2 separate regions of the Homo sapiens genome follow, and region 2 is linked to region 1. The links are contacts of gene promoters, found by promoter capture Hi-C in blood cells and fetal thymus (Javierre and others, 2016). All regions are on one chromosome and are shown on one strand. The core of a region is centred on a gene start or on the middle of the fragment in contact, and the rest is flanking DNA. Distances in the headings are between cores, read along the strand shown. Region 1 holds the start of SENP7 (SUMO specific peptidase 7). Region 2 holds the start of ALCAM (activated leukocyte cell adhesion molecule).

Region 1 (6,827 bases), core at 2,259-4,758:
GCAAACATCACCTGGACCTACTGAAAGATTTAAGAAAGTTATACCATCAGGGACACTAGTAGCAGTAAATGAAGTTAAAACTATAGATTTTGTAATTAGAGACCACATTTTGAATTCTGTTCCTTACTAGCTATTACTAATCTTTATCCTGCCCCTAAATCCCGGTTTTCTCATCTGTAAATGAAAAACAATTACCTTATAAGGCTTTTGAAAATATTGAAGTTTGTGAAGTTCTTAGCACAATGTCTAGTGCCTAAGTACTTAAAGAACATACGTTATCCTTAACTACAAATGAGAGTGACACAGGCCTCCAAGAATGTTGCCTGAAGCAATCAGTTGAAAACTGGTTCAAATTTACTTGACGTTTCCTATTTTGATTCAAAAATTCACTTGAAAATTGCAGTCTATGATTCTAATTTATCTGTGCTGTATTTTTGTTGTTTAACACTTTTAATGGTCATTCTCCCTTGCTCCCAGACACTTTATCATTCAACTTCAGTGAACCTGTCTCTGATGCCAGCCGTTTTTTAATGTGTATCACCATCTAATATACTGCTTTAAATGGTATAGTTATCAGTTACATGAGTTACAAATACATGTGTTTAGCTTAAACCATCTGGAATTGGGTTTCTGCTACTTGCAACTGAAAAAGTTTTGAGCGGTACACTGTGAACATTTTACAGTTCTTCCTTGTTTAGCAGAAAGTTTAGGGCAGCCTAATGTAGTCTCACAGATAAAACTTCAAATTTTGTGTTTTATTTTATCTTTCTACTGCTACCCACCTTCCTTCTACCTCTTCTTCCTGTTTTATTAATCAAACTCTTCTGCATACTTAGGAAACTTTGATGACTATAAATGTCACTTCATGGCCGGGCACGGTGGCTCACGCCTGTAATTCCAGCACTTTGGGAGGCCGAGGCAAGTGGATCACCTGAGCTCAGGAGTTTGAGACCAGCCTGGCCAACATTGTGAAACCCCATCTTTACTAAAAGTACAAAAATTAACCGGGCATGGTGACAGGCACCTGTAATCTCAGCTGCTAGGGAGGCTGAGGCAGAAGAATCGCTTGAACCTGGGAGGCAGGGGTGGTAGATTGTGCCACTGCGCTCCAGCCTGGGCAACAGAGCGAGACTCCATCTCAAAAAAAAAAAAAAAAAAAAGTCACTTCATTTGGGTTCCAGTTAGCAACAACTTACAATGAAATGGCAACTGCATGCCTACAACCACTACACGGAATCTTTCAACCAGCCAATGTTTTATTTCTGAGAATTTATTCAGGAAATTAAATATACGCTATTAAGAAAAGCAGAAGCATACTTAAAAATTAATTAGTGCACATCTTAAAACTAGAGGCATACTGGAGAACAGCTAGGTAACATTAGATTTGGGTATGGATTTTATTATACCTTACTTTTCAGAAAGGACAGCTCCAAAAGAGAGATCACGAGAAAAAGAAAACGCTCTCTAGAGATATAACTAACGTAAATATCAATGTCTTTTAAGGATTAACAGCTTTATTATCAAAATCCACTTCCCACAACTACTTACATCAAGTTACTGTGACAAATAAATAAATCTAAGTGTAATCAGGTAAAAAGGAACGTGACTTGTTGAATTACAAGGCAAATATCTTACCTTCCCTCCTCAAAAATGTATTAAACCTAGATGAAATGCATTTATTTAAAAAAGGTTGTGCATCTCAAAGGAAGATATGATCACACCTAAAGTTCTGTGTTAGGAAGCCCGCAAATGACACCAGCTAAGCATTGTGCGTTTTCCTAATGTGTCCATTTTACTTAGAGGTTTGGTGGGGGGTGGAGACTATTAAAACACTCATCAGTTGGAGGCATATACCTACATGTATGTATAAATATACATATATATCATTTATACATGTGCTTTCAAAGGAAAAAACTATTATCTCCAGAATATACACCAAGAACATCGATAACATTGGTTGCATATGAAAAGGGATTTCAGGTTTTCAACTGCTTCAAGCAGTGTCCCCAGAGATCCATAATCACTCTCCTTTGCAATTAAGGCTGAAAGCAGTTTGAGATGCACTGCCACAGGGCACTCCTAAATAAATTTGGAATTGGTTTTTTTTGTTTTTTTTTTGTTGTTGTTGTTGTTTGATACAGAGTCTCGCTCTGTTGCCCAGGCTGGAGTGCAGTGGTGCGATCTCGGCTCACTGCAAGCTCCGCCTCCCGGGTTCACGCCATTCTCCTGCCTCAGCCTCCTGAGTAGCTGGGACTACAGGCGCCCGCCACCACGCCCGGCTAATTTTTTGCATTTTTTAGTAGAGACGGGGTTTCACAATGTTAGCCAGGATGGTCTCGATCTCCTGACTTTGTGATCCGACCGCCTCGGCCTCCCAAGGTGTTGGCATTACAGGCGTGAGCCACCGCGCCCGGCCAATAAATCTGTAATTGTTAACTGTCTCTGCAGAAACCAACGGTACCATCAGAAACAGAAAAATGAAATGAAATAATTGATTCATTGGGCGTTCGTTTGTGTACTGGACTGTAAGCATATGAGTCCTCGTCCTCTCCTCCTACCATCCATAGGACTTAACACAAGGACTTGAGGACCCCCTAATGGATGAAATGTTTGATAAAAACTTCTCAACTGGGAGGAGCTCTACCTCACGTTTTTATAACTCCACTTTCTTGTTTCCAAGACGTTGTACACAAAACTGAAGATAGTCATTTAAAACAAAGTAACGTCCAAAACAAAAAATATGCTGAAAATAAAAACACAACGAAAGCACGGCTTCAAATCCTTTGTTTGACTTTCCAATCACTTTTGGAAGACGCAGGGTAGGCTGGAAAAGAAAAAGGCTATTAGGCGGGCCTGTTCAGCAGAACGAGACCCGGAGAGGCATTGTATCAAAGAAAAGGAGTCTCCGGTCGCAAGCCCCACCTTTCCTCCCCAGCAGCAGCTACCTGCTGAGGGAAAGAGGAGGGAGAGGGGAAGGGACGCAAAGTCGAGAATCAAAGGAAGAGAGGAAAGTGGGGTCAGGCGCTGAGAAGCCGAAATGAAATTGGAACATTGGTGGAATTACGAGGAAGGCGTGGCAGAGAGTGACAAGCCAACCGGGAAGATCCATGGGCCGATGAGACGCAAGGAGGGTGTTCGCGGGAGGAGGGAAAAAATAAAAGGGGTTTTGAGGTGAAGAGCGCCCGAGGCTTCGATGACAGCTCGGACCGGGTCTTCGACTCCAGGGGCGGGGGCGACCCGGGAGCCTTCCATTGTGCGCGCCCCTTCCTCTCCCCGCCCCCGCCCTCGCCCCCGCGGCTTCGGGCCGCAACCCCAGCTGCCGCCTGCGCCTCCCGTTTCCCCCGGGTAGGAGACAATATGTTCAGCCCTTCTCTGACCCTTTCTCACCGGATGAAGATGGCCGTCGCCCGAGCTTTCTCTTGTCCATCTTCTCCCGCTGCTGAAATTTCAGTTGCAGGCGCTGTCACCTCAGGACCCCTCCGGCTTGGAGAGGGAGGGGGAGGGGAAAGGAAAAAAAAAAAAAAAAAAAAAAAAAAAAAAAAGCCCGCAAAGTGCGAAGCGCGCTTGCGCAAGAGCCGTCGCCTGCCCTTCGACCGGAAATCAGCCGCCCCTCCCACCTTCGACCGGAAATCACTTCCTGGGACTTTTCACTGTGGGCTGCCTCTTCCAGCGTTTTTTTGGTGGCGTTTATTTCATGATCTGAGCCCCTCTGGGGAGGTGAACCACCTGGGTGCTCGATTTTAGCTTTGTTGACTTTGAAGATTAGATTGACAAAAATTAAAAGGGAAAAACAGGAACTCCTCCGGTTCACTGGATCTCGCGAGGTGGCCAAACAACTATGAAAACAAAACGTTAGCGTTTGCAGTATTACATCCCTCACAGCCTCTCTTACATATTTGCCCCCAACGCCTTTCCTCGAACTCAGAAACCAAAAGATTTTAAGATGGCAAAATCACCTAATAATAGCCTAGCTATTAGTTTAGCATTTGCTGTGGAAATATGTCAGCAGACGAGGAAAAATGTCTTAGGATTCCTTTTTAAAATTCGAACTTGTGATTTTTAAAGTTCCTTAAAAGAAAAGCTAGAACTTAATTTTTCAATAACTGAAATGCTGATATGACAGAAAGTGGGTGGCTATAAACTTGGAATTTGTTCAATTAACATTTACCACGATACTTAAGGGACTAATCCAGTCCTCAATGAACTCAAGGTCTGGTACTATTAGCCTGATTATCCCTAATGGTGCATATCTGAATAATTTTTAAATGCACGTGTAAGCTTTCATGACGATTTAATCACAAGTTTAACAAAATTCAGCACAGTGCTCTAAGCAGGGAAAATGTTTCTGGCATGTTCAAAGCCCGAAGGGACTCTGGAAGTAGGGTTTGATTCCCAAGCTGGCCCCTTTATACCCCTAACGCCTATCCCTCCAACCCCCATCTCCCATCCTAACGGAGTCAATAAAGGGATCGGCCCAACTCGTCCACTAGAGCAGTCCCCTTCATCGTGAGTTAAGCCTTCTTAATTATAATGTGGTCAGTCCCCAGGTAGAGGTAAGGCCCCAGGTGTTGTGGGGTGTTGGGCCTGGGGAAGTGTTCTACATGGCAGGAATGACTGCAAAGCAGAAATACTTTAAGTCTTGCTGGGATTGAAGTTTACTGTAAGGATTTCGTTTTATTTGGTTAATTTCTGTTTAACAAAAACATTGCTTTCTGAAAAATAATTGAATTTTCAGTTTCCTCACAAATTAACTTTTTTTTTTTTTTGAGACGGAGTCTCGCTCTGTCGCCCAGGCTGGAGTGCAGTGGCACAATCTCGGCTCGCTGCAAGCTTCACCTCCTGGGTTCACGCCATTCTCCTGCCTCAGCCTCCCGAGTAGCTGAGACTACAGGCGCCCGCCACCACGCCCGGCTAATTTTTTGTATTTTTTAGTAGAGATGGGGTTTCACCATGTTAGCCAGCATGGTCTCGATCTCCTGACCTCGTGATCCGCCCGCCTCAGCCTCCCAGAGTGCTGGGATTACAGGCGTGAGCCACTGCGCCTGGCCCAAATTAACTTTTTTAACTAAAGAACTTAACTGATTCTAAAGTCAAGCTGGGCCGGACACAGTGGCTCGCGTCTGTAATCCCAGCACTTTGGGAGGCCGAGGCAGAATAGATTGAGCCAAGACATTCCAGACCATCCTGGGCAACAAAGCAAGACCCCCCTCTCCACAAAAATATACAGGCCAGATGCTATGACTCACCCTTGAGCCCAGGAGTTTGATACCAGCCTGGGCAATATAGTGAGACCTCCTCTCTACAAAGAAAAAAACTAGCCACACGTGGTGGCGCATGCCTGTAGTCCCAGGTACTCAAGAGGCTAAGGCAGGAAGATCACTTAAGCCCATGGAGTTAAAAGTTGCAGTGAGCCTTGATCAGGCCACTGCATTCCAGCCTGGGCGACAGAGCCAGACTGTCTCGGAAAAAAAAAAAAAAATGACCCGGGCACGGTGGAGCACACCTATAGTCCCCGGCTACTGGGGAAGATGAGATTTAAGGATTACTTGAGTCCAGGACTTTGAGGCTGCAGTGAGCTATGATCGCTACACGGTACTGCGGCCTGGGCGACACACAGATACCCTGTCTCCAAAAAACATAAAAAATAAACTTCCCAGACGATTCTGTTGCATACTCCAATTTGGTAAAACCAACACTTAGTGACATCTGCTTTTTTCTTTTTCCTATCTCTAATATTCTTTTTTCTATGTGTCCTTGCCTCTGGTGGATTAAATACAACTTTTTTGTTCCCTAGGGAGAGGTGAACAGTGAGGAGGGACATTATGTACTTTCATCTTATTTTGAAATTTCTACAGATATAATTTCACAACCACTATTATTTTCTACAATTTACTAAATGGAATTGTAATACAGGCATTATTATTTTTCTAAAAAACTGCATAATTGCTTTCTGTGTTGGGAAAAGAAAAATAGTGCTGCTTTTGTACCAAAACAGTATTCTTTCTTTCAAACATATTTTCTAGAGGTTTTTTGTTTTGTTTTGCTTTCCTAAATATGAAAATAAATGAAAACTTACTCGTTGTAAAAAAAAAAAAGTATCATTAGATATTTTTAAATATTCTGAGTAAAAGTATTCTCCATTCTGTGCTTCTTAATGGCATGGTATATACAAAAGGACCTTGTTCCTAAATATAAAAAAGGATTATAATTACTGTATTAGATTATTACTCTGTAACCAGGGGATTTCCTAACTTCTCAGATTATAAAATTACTTCTTATAAAAGCTTACTAATCACCTGTGAAAAATGTAAATATTGTTAAATGTAACCACTTTTGATCCTAGAAAGGAAAGGGGTTCCTTAAAAATCCAAATACGCTAATTAAAGTTATTTGCATCTATGATTCTGGTGTCCCACCCACCCTCTTCTTTAAAGATAATCACACCTAACCTAGAGAAGTCAAATTCAGAGAGATCGAAAGTAGAATGGTGGTTGCTAGTGCCTAGGATGAGGAGAATGGGGAGTTATTGTTTAATGGGTATAGAGTTACAGTTTTGTAAGATGAAAAGCATTCTGTGGATGGATGTCAGTAATGGTTACACAACAATATGAATGTACGTAATGCCTCTGAACTGCACACTTAAAAATGGTTAGAATGGTAAATTTTGTTATGTATATTTTCACAATTGTTTTTTAAGAAATAACCACACCTAGAACAAGTCATTACAGCTGTGTCACCACCTAATCCAGGATACTGGAAAAGCCTAATTTCAAATTTTCTTTAATGCGTATATGCTGTTCTCCTTTTTTAAAATTTTATTCTGCGTA
Region 2 (6,827 bases), core at 2,925-5,424, 3.9 Mb after region 1:
AGGCTAGCACTATTATCACTTTTTACAAGAAAGGAGACTGAAGCTTAAAGAGGTTAAGTGAGTTGACCAAGATCATACAGTTAGTGTCAGAGCCCAAATCAGTCTTCCTTTTGCAAATCTACCTTTAAGCAATTATGCTGTATTAACTCCCATCGTAAAATAGAGGAGATCAGATAGAGCGTTCGCGGACCTAGGTTAAATATATTGTCAGGTCGATTTATTCTAATACACCCCACTTACAACCACAGTGAAAAAGAAAACAATTCCCTAAAGCAATTCTACAGGAGTCCATGGAAATGCTAGCATTTCAGCCAAGCTTAGCTCAAGGAATATAGAGTTAAAAGGCATTTGCCTCCTAGCGATAGCCTTCCTGTTGATTCATAAGATGCAAATGAAATGTTAATGTTTAAACCAAGTGGGAGAAACTACTTATTTTGAGAGGAAAAAAATATGGTATAAAAGCTCTACTCTAGAATATTGTTAATGTAAGGAGAACTGGAAGAACAGGACAAGCAGGCTTTTGAGAAAAATCACAGCTGAAGATAGGGCTTAATAGTTTAGAGCACTAAAAGATAAACAATTTTAAAAATCAGTGTGTGAGTGTGTGTGTGTGTGTGTGTGTCTGTGTGTTGCGAGTCTCCAATCTCGCTGGTAACTCGCAGTTTTCTGATGAAAGTGCAGTATGTAACGATTACTAGTTGGCATCCTCTGCTGGAGACCAGTCTCACAAAAGGGTGACCCTGTGATGCACGAAAGGCTATTTAATGCCCCAGCGAAGTGCTTCAGGGACCAAGATTTTATTATTCTTTGGTGATGAGAGTTGTGATCCTGCATCCCTGATTTAGAGCCACTTAGGGCTCCGACAGCTCCACCCCGGTGTTCTAGAGGAAAATCTTCCTTCATGCTCTCTGCCTGATTTGAAAGCAACACAGCTTCCCGATGTTCCTCCTGGGAGGTGGTTCAATCTTTAGAAATTGCCTAAGAAGCCTGTCCATCTGCTGGAGTGCCTGGCTTTCGGGAACGGACCAAGACGGACTTGGCTTTTAATCTGAAATAATTTGAGGATTTTCTGTCTATAACTTAAAATCACCGCTTAACTCAAAGTAAAAAAGTGACACGCTCTCTAGAGGGCTTTTGTAGACATTGGGAAAATCCGTATGACGAAGTACGGTTTAGAAATTCCGGATTTAATTTCCCCCGGGAAAAGCAAATATCTTCTGTTGGTACCGGGCAGTCGACTCACGTAGTCTTCCTTTAAAACCAAGTCTATGCCAGCCGGGTGTGAGGGGAGTGGTGGGGGTGAGCAGGGGGAGGAGAGAGATTCGAAAAGTACAGGAGGAATCAGTCCAGTACAGGGGTTGCCCCTGCCAACAAGTAGCTATTCCTGTTAACTCCCAAGAAGCAAGTTTCCACCTTTGCCACTTCCTCCTGCCCTTTCCTTTCCTTTTCCCTTCACTCCCGCTCTTGGACCCAAGGTTCGCTCCCCACCGCCACCGCCCTGCCCCACTATTCTCTTTACAGGACAGAAGGCTGCAGCAGCACGGCGGAGAAAAATCTCTGAGGAATGAGTCAGTGGGATGGGCGTATGGGTGGAGGGAGAGGGCAGTCGATTTTTAAACCTCAGCGAGGGTGGGTGGGCAGTTGGAAGCCAGAGGCCTTATCACTGGGGCGCTGCAACATCACAGAAAGTGTTAGTCCCAGGGCTCTCCCTGGCGCGCGCGGCTCCTGTGCTTGCTTCTTATTGGCGGACCTGGCCCTGGGGGCGGAGCCGCGGTGAAGCACCGCTCATCCGGGCTCCAGGACCGGGGCACGCGGTTCTCCCTGATCCCGGAGCTGGGCTCAGGGCTCGGACTCAGTCCTGCAGCGCCTCTAGGCTGCGGATCCGCGCTTCAACCACCTGCTTTGCGCTGCGTCCGGGGAAGTGGGGAGGAGACGGGAGGGAGGGAGGAGGCGGGGAGAGGAGGAAAGAGGCAGCTTACACACGCCTTCCAGTCCCTCTACTCAGAGCAGCCCGGAGACCGCTGCCGCCGCTGCCGCTGCTACCACCGCTGCCACCTGAGGAGACCCGCCGCCCCCCCGTCGCCGCCTCCTGCGAGTCCTTCTTAGCACCTGGCGTTTCATGCACATTGCCACTGCCATTATTATTATCATTCCAATACAAGGAAAATAAAAGAAGATACCAGCGAAAAGAACCGCTTACACCTTTCCGAATTACTCAAGTGTCTCCTGGAAACAGAGGGTCGTTGTCCCCGGAGGAGCAGCCGAAGGGCCCGTGGGCTGGTGTTGACCGGGAGGGAGGAGGAGTTGGGGGCATTGCGTGGTGGAAAGTTGCGTGCGGCAGAGAACCGAAGGTGCAGCGCCACAGCCCAGGGGACGGTGTGTCTGGGAGAAGACGCTGCCCCTGCGTCGGGACCCGCCAGCGCGCGGGCACCGCGGGGCCCGGGACGACGCCCCCTCCTGCGGCGTGGACTCCGTCAGTGGCCCACCAAGAAGGAGGAGGAATATGGAATCCAAGGGGGCCAGTTCCTGCCGTCTGCTCTTCTGCCTCTTGATCTCCGCCACCGTCTTCAGGCCAGGTGAGCAAGGGCCTGGGAGCAGCCCCAGACAGACGTGGGCCTGGAGCAGTTTCCTAGGTCCCCGTCCCAGCCTCGCACCCCCGAGGCAGTGCGCCCAGGCGCGTGGTGGAGGTAAGGGGACCGCTGTCCTGGCACAGAGCTGTCCCCGGGCTCGGTCACCTGTGCCGCACGTTTGGGCTTGGCTGGTTAGCTCAAGTTTGGGCATCAAGCTGGGGAAACTGGGTGAATCTCCAGGAACTTGGTGCTCCGGGGTGGGCAGGATTCGCCTGACGCTCTCCCCTTGTCCCTGCGGCTCCCAGCTAGGCGGCGGACTCTTGCCCTCTGACAGTTCCTCCTGTCTCTGGGTATCCAAGTCCACGTCACTGCGCCCCGAGCAGTTTTTCTTTCGCTTAGTTCTCGGATGAAATAACTGCCGGCACTTTTTCGTGATAAATCCCCTAGTAACTTCCCCTTGGTGAGCCGAGGAAGGGATGGGAGGGGTAGAGAAGGAGAGGACTTTAATCACCTCCCCCCGCCCCCCTTGCGAAACCTGCTAAAGCTTAAAATCGTGGTTTCAACGTTACCCCCTGCGGTCCCCGTCCATTGTCTGGGCGGGTGGTGAGTGAAAGGGTGACCGCAGGCAGATAACACAGCCAGAACAGGAATTAGTAGGTAGGCCTGGGAGACACCTCAGTGAGAGGTTTGTGAATTTCCAGGACCTGCTCATAGAGCCTCAGTTCTCAGTTCTGTACTGAGTCTTGGAAGAGAGAGAGAGAGAGAGAGAGAGAGAGAGAGAGAGAGAGAAAAGGCAAAATTCCCAACAACTAAAATATCTCTCGGGAAATCCCTTTCCACACCCTCGGGGACGTCCCCTGGCCCTGGTATCCTCAGGCCCGCCTGGCGGCTGACACAAGTTGTTCTAACAGGGTATTCCGTGCGCTCACAGTTGCCTGACAGAGCAGCAGGTTCCTTTGCTCCCCTAAACTGAAAATTTAGGGGATTTTTTTTTCTTTGAAGTTTTTTTTTTCTATCCCTGCGTAGACAGTTGCCAGTTAAACTCCTACTTCCTGGTATTTTGGCCTGTTTGTTCTTAGCTTTTTCTTTAGCTTTTATCAAAGAAAAATCTCACTTCCTTTTATCCGTGCACATCCCTTCAGCTGTCGGCAAGCTCAGGTCACAGAAGAGGTTTGAAAGCCTCTGAATCTCTCCCAGGAACTGGCGGGGAGAGGGGTTTGGGGGCCAGAGCCTGAGGAAGAGATTACAAGTGTTTGCGAGCTGCTGCTGCTGCTGCCGTTGCTGTGTGTGTGGGCGGGAGGAGTGCCCTCTCCAGATCTCTTTATTAAAGTTACATTTCTGGGTGAGGTAATGAGCTCACCTGATGTTTCTGAGGCTGAGGGAAAAAAAAGGCGTCTGCGTTCTCTGACAAATCTCGGGCTCTGGGGCGGGGACTGTGAAACCATAGTTCAACCGGATTTAAAGCAGGTGTCCTAGTGTAACAACGCTGGGGAGGTAGGTGGAAAGGCGAGACCCCCTTGGGCCTGGCACAGTGTGGATTTCACTTTTTCGAGATTCCACTGTCCGATGGAGGAAAGGACACTTTGGAGCCAGGGAATGAGCCAAGAAGGGAGGACAAGGGTGATGTCGGTTTGTAACATGCAAACGTCCACACGCCCACAGTTGGTTTTCCGATTAACCCCCTCGAGACTTGGAGAATGTAATCTCACCCTCGTCCACACCCCTGACACAGGCACATAACCAGTTTCCTTTTCGGTGCCGTCACAGGCGGGCCACGTCGCAGGATAGGTTTTTCTACACATTTAACTGCTAAAAGGGGGAAAGTTCCGCTTTCAGACCTCCTTCACGGTGGTTCTTTTGGCGCCACAGGCTCGTGTGTCCAGGGGGCACCGAGCTGCGCGCTTTCGGCGAGCGGCTAGCCCCGGCTCACCGCAACCAGCCACCGTGAATCTGAGGATCCGATATCGGCCCTGGACCCTCAGATCCGTGGTTTCGGTGAATTACCGAGCTGGCATTGCCGAAATTCTCATTGCAGTATCAGTGTGTTTTGAAAGGAAAGGTTACAGCACTAAAGGCGCCGTGTCTACACTGAGGAAGCAAGTCTTGGACAGTAAGTGCGCCTTCTTCGGAGCCCTCTGCATAGCAGAGCCCGGTGGGGGCGCGGTGCCAAAGGCCGGCTTCATTTGAGCGGGGTAACTGCCTTCCCTGCCGGCCACTCTTCATTTCCGGAGCAGTTTTAATAGTGTATGTCCAGTTGTAGAGGTCAAAAACTCGAGTTTGTGAAACTGCTTCCCCGGGTCTTTCGGCTTGTAGTCGCTACAAAGTCATTGATATATTTTAGGCGTGCCACGTTACCTGTTTTGAAAGGAGGAGAAAAATATATGAACCACGAAAACTGAATTCAGAGATGAAGGCAATGAAGTGTGTGTTCAACATCCGAGATAGCAATATTCTCGTTATTCTTGTAGAAAGAGCGTCAGCCTGTGGTGACATTTTGTATTGCTTAAAAAAAGAATGCTTTTCTGGATTATTTACAAGGAGATGGGGCGCTGCAGTTAACTCTTTCTTCACTTGGGTCATCTGTATGAACCCCTCTATGGGATTTTTCATAACTACTCACTGATCTCACTGATATAAGATTCATTCTAAGACATAAGCACACATAAAGCTTTCTTCAGTGGGATATTATGTTTGAAACATATCAATTGATCTCAACAGGACTTGGGAAAGCATCAACTCAAATAATGTCCTTTCAAAGACTATTGATGTAGGACTATTGAAATTGATTAATTTAAAAACTAAAAACTGTTTAACAGCCAATATATATATATTTTTTCCTTAAGGATTTATTTAATCCAATAGCAATTTACAATTTAATGGAGCATTATTTGCAGTAAATTGCTTTTCTAGGCTTTCTTCAGGACATCTACCTTCAGGCACTTGAGCAAGTCATTTAACCTTTTTGAGCTTCAGTTTTCTCATACAAAATAAAAAGACAGACTAGAGGCCTACTCTCTGAAATGTCTCCCAGCTCAAAAACTCTTTGTTTCTGAAGTCTTAAGGTAAAAAACCAATTTAGGCAGGCAGAGTCATTTTTCAACACTATTTTTCTAAGGATCTCAGTCTAGACAAAATTCATATAAATTGTATTATTAGAAAAGTATCAGTAGACCCCAATTTCTAATTTCCTTTTTTTTTCTACCTTTAAAAATTCATGATAACATCTATGCTTACTCTTTCCAGCCTTAGTAGGGAAAAAAAAAAGCGTGAAGGAGAGAAATTAGCCTTCCACTCTCCTGGGAAAAGAGGACCCAAAAGTAAGAAAGGATAGTAGGCCTCAGAAAGCCCTGCTAGTGTAACTCATCTCTCCTGCAAACCTGTTCCTATATAAACTGCATACATAGTACCTAGAATGAGATGTAAATTATGGTTTATGCTTAAATATTCATATGACAAAGCCTCATATTGTACATCCTAAAGTTGCTCAAAAAGTTGATTTGCAACATGGTTGTAAATGCAAGACAGAAGGAAATAGAAAATACTAATATTTTTCTATTGTTTTAAAACTTGTAGAAATCCAAAATATCTTGTCTTACCAGATTCCAAACCTTTTCTGACTTTGTAAAAAATTCAAACTAGCTTATCTTTTTTAATAGACATTCAGATGAAAATGCATGTCTACCATTGACTTATCAAAAAGAAGAAAATTAATTAAATAGTCTTGTGTTATTAGAAAAATTGTATATTGTAGTCAGTATTCATGTGTTCAGTTTCTAACTATGTCATGTAAGAATGTTGTGACCTTGGGAAAATTATTTTTCTGCTCTTTTTTATTTCCCATCTGTGAATTTCTTTCTGTGCAATGTGTGGTTCTGATTGTGTTGAGATTAGTAATTCCCTTGCTCAGCATTTCAAATTTTTTAAGTAAAACGTGCTATATTAATTAAGGCTTTTATTATATTGTTAATAGAATAACATTCTTTAATTTATTCCACTTAATTATCACTTTTATCATTTTATTAAAATAATGGAAAGATGTTTCTTTTTTTTTTTCTCTTTTTTCTTTTTCTCCGTCAAATTTTCATGCCACTAACCGTGGGCCTTTGTAAAACTTAGTACCACCTAAGTTGTCAATATTACTTGGTGTAAGATGGCAGCAGTTTGTCAGATAGTATTTTAAATGCTTTATAATCACCATGTTTTACAATTCCAAACACACTTCTTTCTGTTCTGGCCATTTATTTAGCATAAAACACC

The links. Contacts are between HindIII fragments. The CHiCAGO score rates a contact against its expected background, and 5 or more counts as called.
Region 2: a contact is called between a fragment that was not itself captured here and the fragment with the promoter of SENP7 in region 1, in 1 of 17 cell types (total B cells). The highest score is 5.3, in total B cells.

The regions. Positions count from the first base shown.
Region 1 is chr3:101,509,704-101,516,530 of GRCh38, forward strand. SENP7 (SUMO specific peptidase 7) reads right to left here and starts at 3,509. Exons shown (of 24, transcript NM_020654.5): 1 at 3,388-3,509. The coding sequence starts at 3,427. The HindIII fragment of the contact is 4,750 bases long and covers 1-4,276 here.
Region 2 is chr3:105,364,906-105,371,732 of GRCh38, forward strand. ALCAM (activated leukocyte cell adhesion molecule) reads left to right here and starts at 2,004. Exons shown (of 16, transcript NM_001627.4): 1 at 2,004-2,576. The coding sequence starts at 2,504. RefSeq lists silencers at 1,949-2,048, 2,379-2,498 and enhancers at 3,529-3,688, 4,025-4,525, 4,526-5,026. The HindIII fragment of the contact is 2,124 bases long and covers 3,113-5,236 here.